Regions from separate parts of the Homo sapiens genome. Here region 1 is linked to region 2. The links are contacts of gene promoters, found by promoter capture Hi-C in human tissues and cell types (Jung and others, 2019). All regions are on one chromosome and are shown on one strand. The core of a region is centred on a gene start or on the middle of the fragment in contact, and the rest is flanking DNA. Distances in the headings are between cores, read along the strand shown.

The links. The method cuts DNA at HindIII sites, captures the fragments that hold promoters and counts their contacts. A contact is called where the count stands out against the background at its distance.
Region 1: a fragment that was not itself captured here is called in contact with the fragment with the promoter of CBR3 in region 2 in 1 of the 25 tissues and cell types used here (spleen).

What each region holds. Positions count from the first base shown.
Region 1 is chr21:36,183,172-36,185,871 of GRCh38, forward strand. The region is part of intron 2 of DOP1B (DOP1 leucine zipper like protein B); the gene reads left to right. LOC124905016 (a long non-coding RNA gene) reads left to right here and starts at 793. Exons shown (of 2, transcript XR_007067855.1): 1 at 793-835; 2 at 1,391-1,986. The HindIII fragment of the contact is 5,235 bases long and covers 1-2,700 here.
Region 2 is chr21:36,133,629-36,136,328 of GRCh38, forward strand. It overlaps CBR3 (carbonyl reductase 3), which reads left to right and starts at 1,451. Exons shown (of 3, transcript NM_001236.4): 1 at 1,451-1,853. The coding sequence starts at 1,565. The region is part of intron 2 of CBR3-AS1 (CBR3 antisense RNA 1); the gene reads right to left. RefSeq lists enhancers at 806-1,613, 1,614-2,420, 2,256-2,425 and silencers at 1,436-1,505, 1,936-2,105. The HindIII fragment of the contact is 7,591 bases long and covers 1-2,700 here.

The sequences.
Region 1 (2,700 bases), core at 108-2,607, 49 kb after region 2:
TGTGCCCAGCTCTCTGTAGGATGCTTATTCCCATCCTGGCCTCCCTGACTTCTGTCCAGTAGATGCCAGTATCACCCCCTCCTCCACCCAAAGTTGTAACAGCCAGAAATGTTTCCACACATTGCCAAATGTCCCCTGGGGGCAAAATTTCCCCAGTTGAGAACCACTGCTGTAGACCTTTGGTTTTGTGAGGCAATACATTGCTTCATTTAAACCTGTATGGCTTGATGGTCTGTTCTTTACAGCCACACATGTCCTAGCTGAGCTCACAACCCTGGACCATCCTCAACCCGAGAGCCAGAGCCTGTTTCTTCTGCAGGCTGACGTGGACGTACTTGTCTGTTGACAGTAAAGGTATTTTGTGCATCCTTAAAAGATGCAGTGTCTTGCAGCTGTTGGAGTGGTTTCTGGCTGGGAGCAGGACGCCTACAGAGCAGTTGCAGAGGACCTTCTGTCTCCCCATGGCGGAGGCACCATTCCAACTACGGAACCTTTGTTGTGTTTTGGAGGGGGTCGTGTGCTTCCAGCACCTGCCGCCTCTGCCAGCCACAGCACTCTGCCTCTTTGTTCTGAGTGCCCGGGACAGAGTTGTATAGCTGCTGCCTTTTGGAGAGAGGAGTCAGCTTTGGGCTTGAATGTATCTGGAGATAGCCCAGCTTTCATGCCATCTTCACATTTCCTGTGTACATGGTTTCTTTTTTTTTTTTTTTTAGATGGCGTCTCACTCTGTCGCCCAGGCTGGAGTGCAGTGGTGCAGTCTCAACTCACTGCAACCTCTGCCTCCCAGGTTCAAGCTATTCTCCTGCCTCAGCTTCCCGAGTAGCTGGGACTACAGGTGCGTGCCACCACGCCTGGTTAATTTTTGTTTTTTGCTTTTTCTATTTTATCTTTTTTTGAGACAGAGTCATACTCTGTCGTCCAGGCTGGAGTGCAGTGGCGTGATCTTGGCTCACTGCAACCTCCGGCTCCCAGGTTCAAGTGATTCTCCTGCCTCAGCCTCCCAAGTAGCTGGGATTACAGATGTGCACCACCACACCTGGCTAATTTTTGTATTTTTATTAGAGATGGGATTTCACCATGTTGGTCAGGCTGGTCTCAAACTCCCGACCTCAGGTGATCCACCTGCCTTGGTCTCCCAGAGTGCTGCGATTACAGGTGTGAGCCACCACGCCCGGCCTAATTTTTGTATTTTTAGTAGAGGCGGGTTTCGCTATGTTGCCCAGGCTGGTCTTGAACTCCTGACCTCAAGTGATCCACCCACCTCGGCCTCCCAGAGTGCTGGGATCATAGGCATGAGCCACCGTGCCCAGCCCCTGTATACACTGTTGCGGCCCCTTCCCACCCAGCTGCCGAGAGATGGTTCTTTCACAGGTCTCCTGCTTCCGTGCAGGTAGCTTATTCCAGGGACAGGGAAGCAGGAGGAAAAAGCACTAGGAGGAAGACCGCAGACTGGATTCAGAACAGGCTATCGTGGAGAGCTGTGTGCTTCGCTGCCGGCCTGAGGCTCTGCGTTCCCCTCCTTGGTGCTCAGGCTGCCCGGCATACGCAGCAAGTGCTGACCCAGCAGGCAGCCCACGTGCGCTTCAGGTGTGGGAGGCTCTGCGGGCTGCGGGGAACAGGATCGCTGTGGGAGGTTGAGCCTGGAGCTCTGAACAGCCACTCTGCGCCCAATCTGCTGTAGCGCTGAGGGTCAGGAAGGCCTCTGGGAGTTCTCTAGAAGAAGGCGCTGGGGAGGAGGAGTTAACATCTCATTTCATTAGAGCATGCCAGTTCTGTTCTGGGTGTGACTTTTGAAGAATATTGAGTTCTACCAGTAGAACTTTGGGGACTGAAACCTGTTGAGGATTTGTAGTAAGACTGTGTCCCGAAGGCGTTCTTCCTTTTCTTCTGTCTCTGACTTTAACAAGCAGGTTTCCCTATAAGCTTTGGTGTTTGTTAAACAGATCATTTGTATGTGCAATAAAATATGTTTAAAAATTAGAAAAATAACATCTCCCGATACTATGTTATTTTATATTTTTAATGGTATGATTACTTTTATTTGATTTTCTGGTTTGTGATGATAAATGCATAAGAATGGCAGTGTTCTCTGCATCATGTACATTTCAAGGTGTAGACTGTGTTCTGAAGGGAGAGTCGGCCCCACATCCTTACCTTCTTTTCCTGTGGTTTATTGCAGAACTCAGCTGCCTTCACCTCCTCCTGCCATTTTTCATCACTTCTGAGACTGTTAGCTCTTAGACCCCCCAAATAGAACAGTTTCCTTTGTGAGCCCCTATTATATGCTTGCCACCATTGTTTTTCAAACCTAGGATCCTCCAAACTCAGTGCCACTCAGCCTCTTCTACTGATGAAGAAACTGGAGTTCAAAGGCTTGCTTGCAGCTTCCCAGGTGTATGACGAGTATTTCAGGTCGGCCAGCGCCTTGTGAAGCCCACACTCCAGGGTTGAGGGCAACATGTAACAATGTCAGGGAAGGCTGAGGAAGTGCTGTGCCATCGCAAAAGAATAAAATATAAGTCTAGAAATGCGGAAGGTACTGTACAGCATCACAGCTACCTAAACTTCCTCTATGGGAAGACAGGGAAAGTAGGCGTTAGTGGCAAGACAGAGTGGCTTTGAGTCTAAGTGTCATAATAAACTCTGACGGGGAAAAATAAGGGGCAGCATTTGCACATGTGTGCTGCAGATTACCCGCTG
Region 2 (2,700 bases), core at 201-2,700:
GCATGACTGTGGCACACTTGTAGTCCCAGCTACTAGGGAGGCTAAAGGGGAGGATCACCTGAGCTCAGGAGACTGACGCTACAGTGAGCCACGACTGCAGCACTGCACTCCAGCCTGGGCGACAGAGAAGACCCTATTAAAAAAAAAAAAAAAAAAAAAAAAAACAGAAATAGAAAGCCTAAATAGCCCCATATCCTTAAAACAAGGTTCCAAATGATCTTTTTTTTTTTTTTTGAAAAGTCTCACTCTGTTGCACAGGTTGGAGTGCAGTGGTGCAATCTCGGTTTACTGCAACCTCCGCCTCCCGGGTTCAAGCAGTTCTCCTGCCTCAGCCTCCTAAGTAGCTGGGATTACAGGCACGTGCCACCACACCCAGGTAATTTTTGTATTTTTAGTAGAGATGGGGGTTTCACCATGTTGGTCAGGCTGGTCTTGAACTCCTGACCGCGTAATCCACCCGCCTCAGCCTCCCAAAGTGCTGGGATTACAGGTGTGAGCCACCGCGCCCGGACCAAATGATCTTTAGGAGAAAAAAGAAGGAAATACTGGGGGAGGCACAGTAGGAGATCACAGCAGGGGCCCACCTCCGGAACCTCAAGTAAGGACTTGAGAGAGAAGGTAGAGTCAGAGTAACAGAGACACAGGCGGGTTAGCCAGCTCTGCATGGAAAAGGCTGAGTCGTGATGATGTCATGGTTCTCCCCAAATCTCAAAGTCACTGATCAAACAACTCAGTTTACACTGAAGACGATGGATGAGACTCTAATTTTGTGCCCACAGCTTGACACACCTTTGGGAATTTGGTTTAACTTTCTTTGCCGGTACACAGATCTGTGAGAACATATGATCAATCCAGATCTTTATAGATCTATATCCTCCCTGGACAAACCTAAATGCAGACACTTTTAGCACCCGTAGGAGTTAGGTAGGATTAAATAAAAACATTCCCTCCCACTTGGGGGCACATTCACTGGGAATCCCAGAGCGATGTCGCCTGCCCACACCTGCTAAGTGCGCTCACAGGGCATCTAGTTCCCTCTCTTGAGTTCCTTTTAAGCAAGCAAGGCAACCTATGTCCAGAGAAGCAGTTACTGTGTCTAAGTAAGTCACTGCATCTTAGGAAAAAGCAAACATTCGCATTTTGCAGTGCATGATGGGCGCACACCCAAGAAAATTACTCAGCACTTGTTTTTCTCACTTTGGGGTTTTCCCAAAATAATTTCTTCAGTCCAGTTGCCAAGAATCTGGAGCCCCCGACTGACCCATCAAGGTCCGATTTGGCTTCGGACACCTCGCAGATCACCCCGCGGCTCAGAGCCCGGATCCTGAAGGGCGCAGCGTGGGCAGGGGGCGGGCCCGGGAGTTGGAACAGAGGGCACAGACGGCCCCTCCTCGGAGGGGAGGGACCGGAGCCGGGGCCTTTTTCTTTAAGACTCGCAGCACTGGATCCCAGAACTTAGTCTGCGCGGCGGCATTGACACTAGCTGGGCTCCTCGGGGCGCGCCCCAGGTGGTCCGAAGCCCGGTCCGCCCTCCACGCAGGTGCCCCGCGCTCCCCGCTCAGCCATGTCGTCCTGCAGCCGCGTGGCGCTGGTGACCGGGGCCAACAGGGGCATCGGCTTGGCCATCGCGCGCGAACTGTGCCGACAGTTCTCTGGGGATGTGGTGCTCACCGCGCGGGACGTGGCGCGGGGCCAGGCGGCCGTGCAGCAGCTGCAGGCGGAGGGCCTGAGCCCGCGCTTCCACCAACTGGACATCGACGACTTGCAGAGCATCCGCGCCCTGCGCGACTTCCTGCGCAAGGAGTACGGGGGGCTCAACGTACTGGTCAACAACGCGGCCGTCGCCTTCAAGAGTAGGTGCAGGGCTTGGGTTGGGGCCCCCTGGAGCGCTCCGAGGGTGCGGAGGTGGCCAGCCGCAGGCTCCCCACCCGTCCACTTGAGTGACCGAGGAGGGTGGCGCCGACCCCTAGGGATGCGCTCAGCCCACGCCTCCCGCGAGGCGGTTTTCGCTTTCCGTGATTCGCTGAGCCCCAGGCGGGCCCGGGCGACAAACAGCGCGCCCCGCCCGCCGGCCTGTGAGGGCCTGTGCGCGGCCCGGGGCCCTCCCCGAACTGTCAGCCGCTGTTGTGTGCAGGAAAACTGGCCTCCTGGGAGGGGGCAACGCCCTGCTAGAGTTCATCAGCTTTCCTTCCAACGCGAGAAACATTTTCTCTGCAAAGAAACGGTCTCCGCTCGCTTTGGGCTTTCGCTTTCCTTGAAAGGGCGCATTCATAGATGCCCGGAGGCATTTGCTCGGGAAAGGAAATGAATCGCTAAAACAGGATTAGCGCGCGCTTGCCCTTGGTGGACTTGACAATTTGTGTAATGCAGAGCTTTGATAGGCTCTGGCAAAAAGGAAGCGAGCCTTCTCGTTCCCCCACCCCCGCCCGGGGAGCTTATGTTTGTTATAAAATACGTGCGTGTGGTCTTAAAAGCATCTTCCTTAAGGAGAGGGGCGGGGATCAAGAGATTGCTTATTCTAACTACTACTGAAGAAAATTACAGGAGGGCGCAGTGGCTCACGCCTGTAATGCCAGCACTTTGGGAGGCCGAGGCAGGAGAAACGCTTGAACCTGGGAGGCAGTGAGCCGAGATCGCGCCACTGCACTCCAGACTGGGAGACAGAGCGAGACTCCGTATGAAAAAAAAAAAAAAGTTACT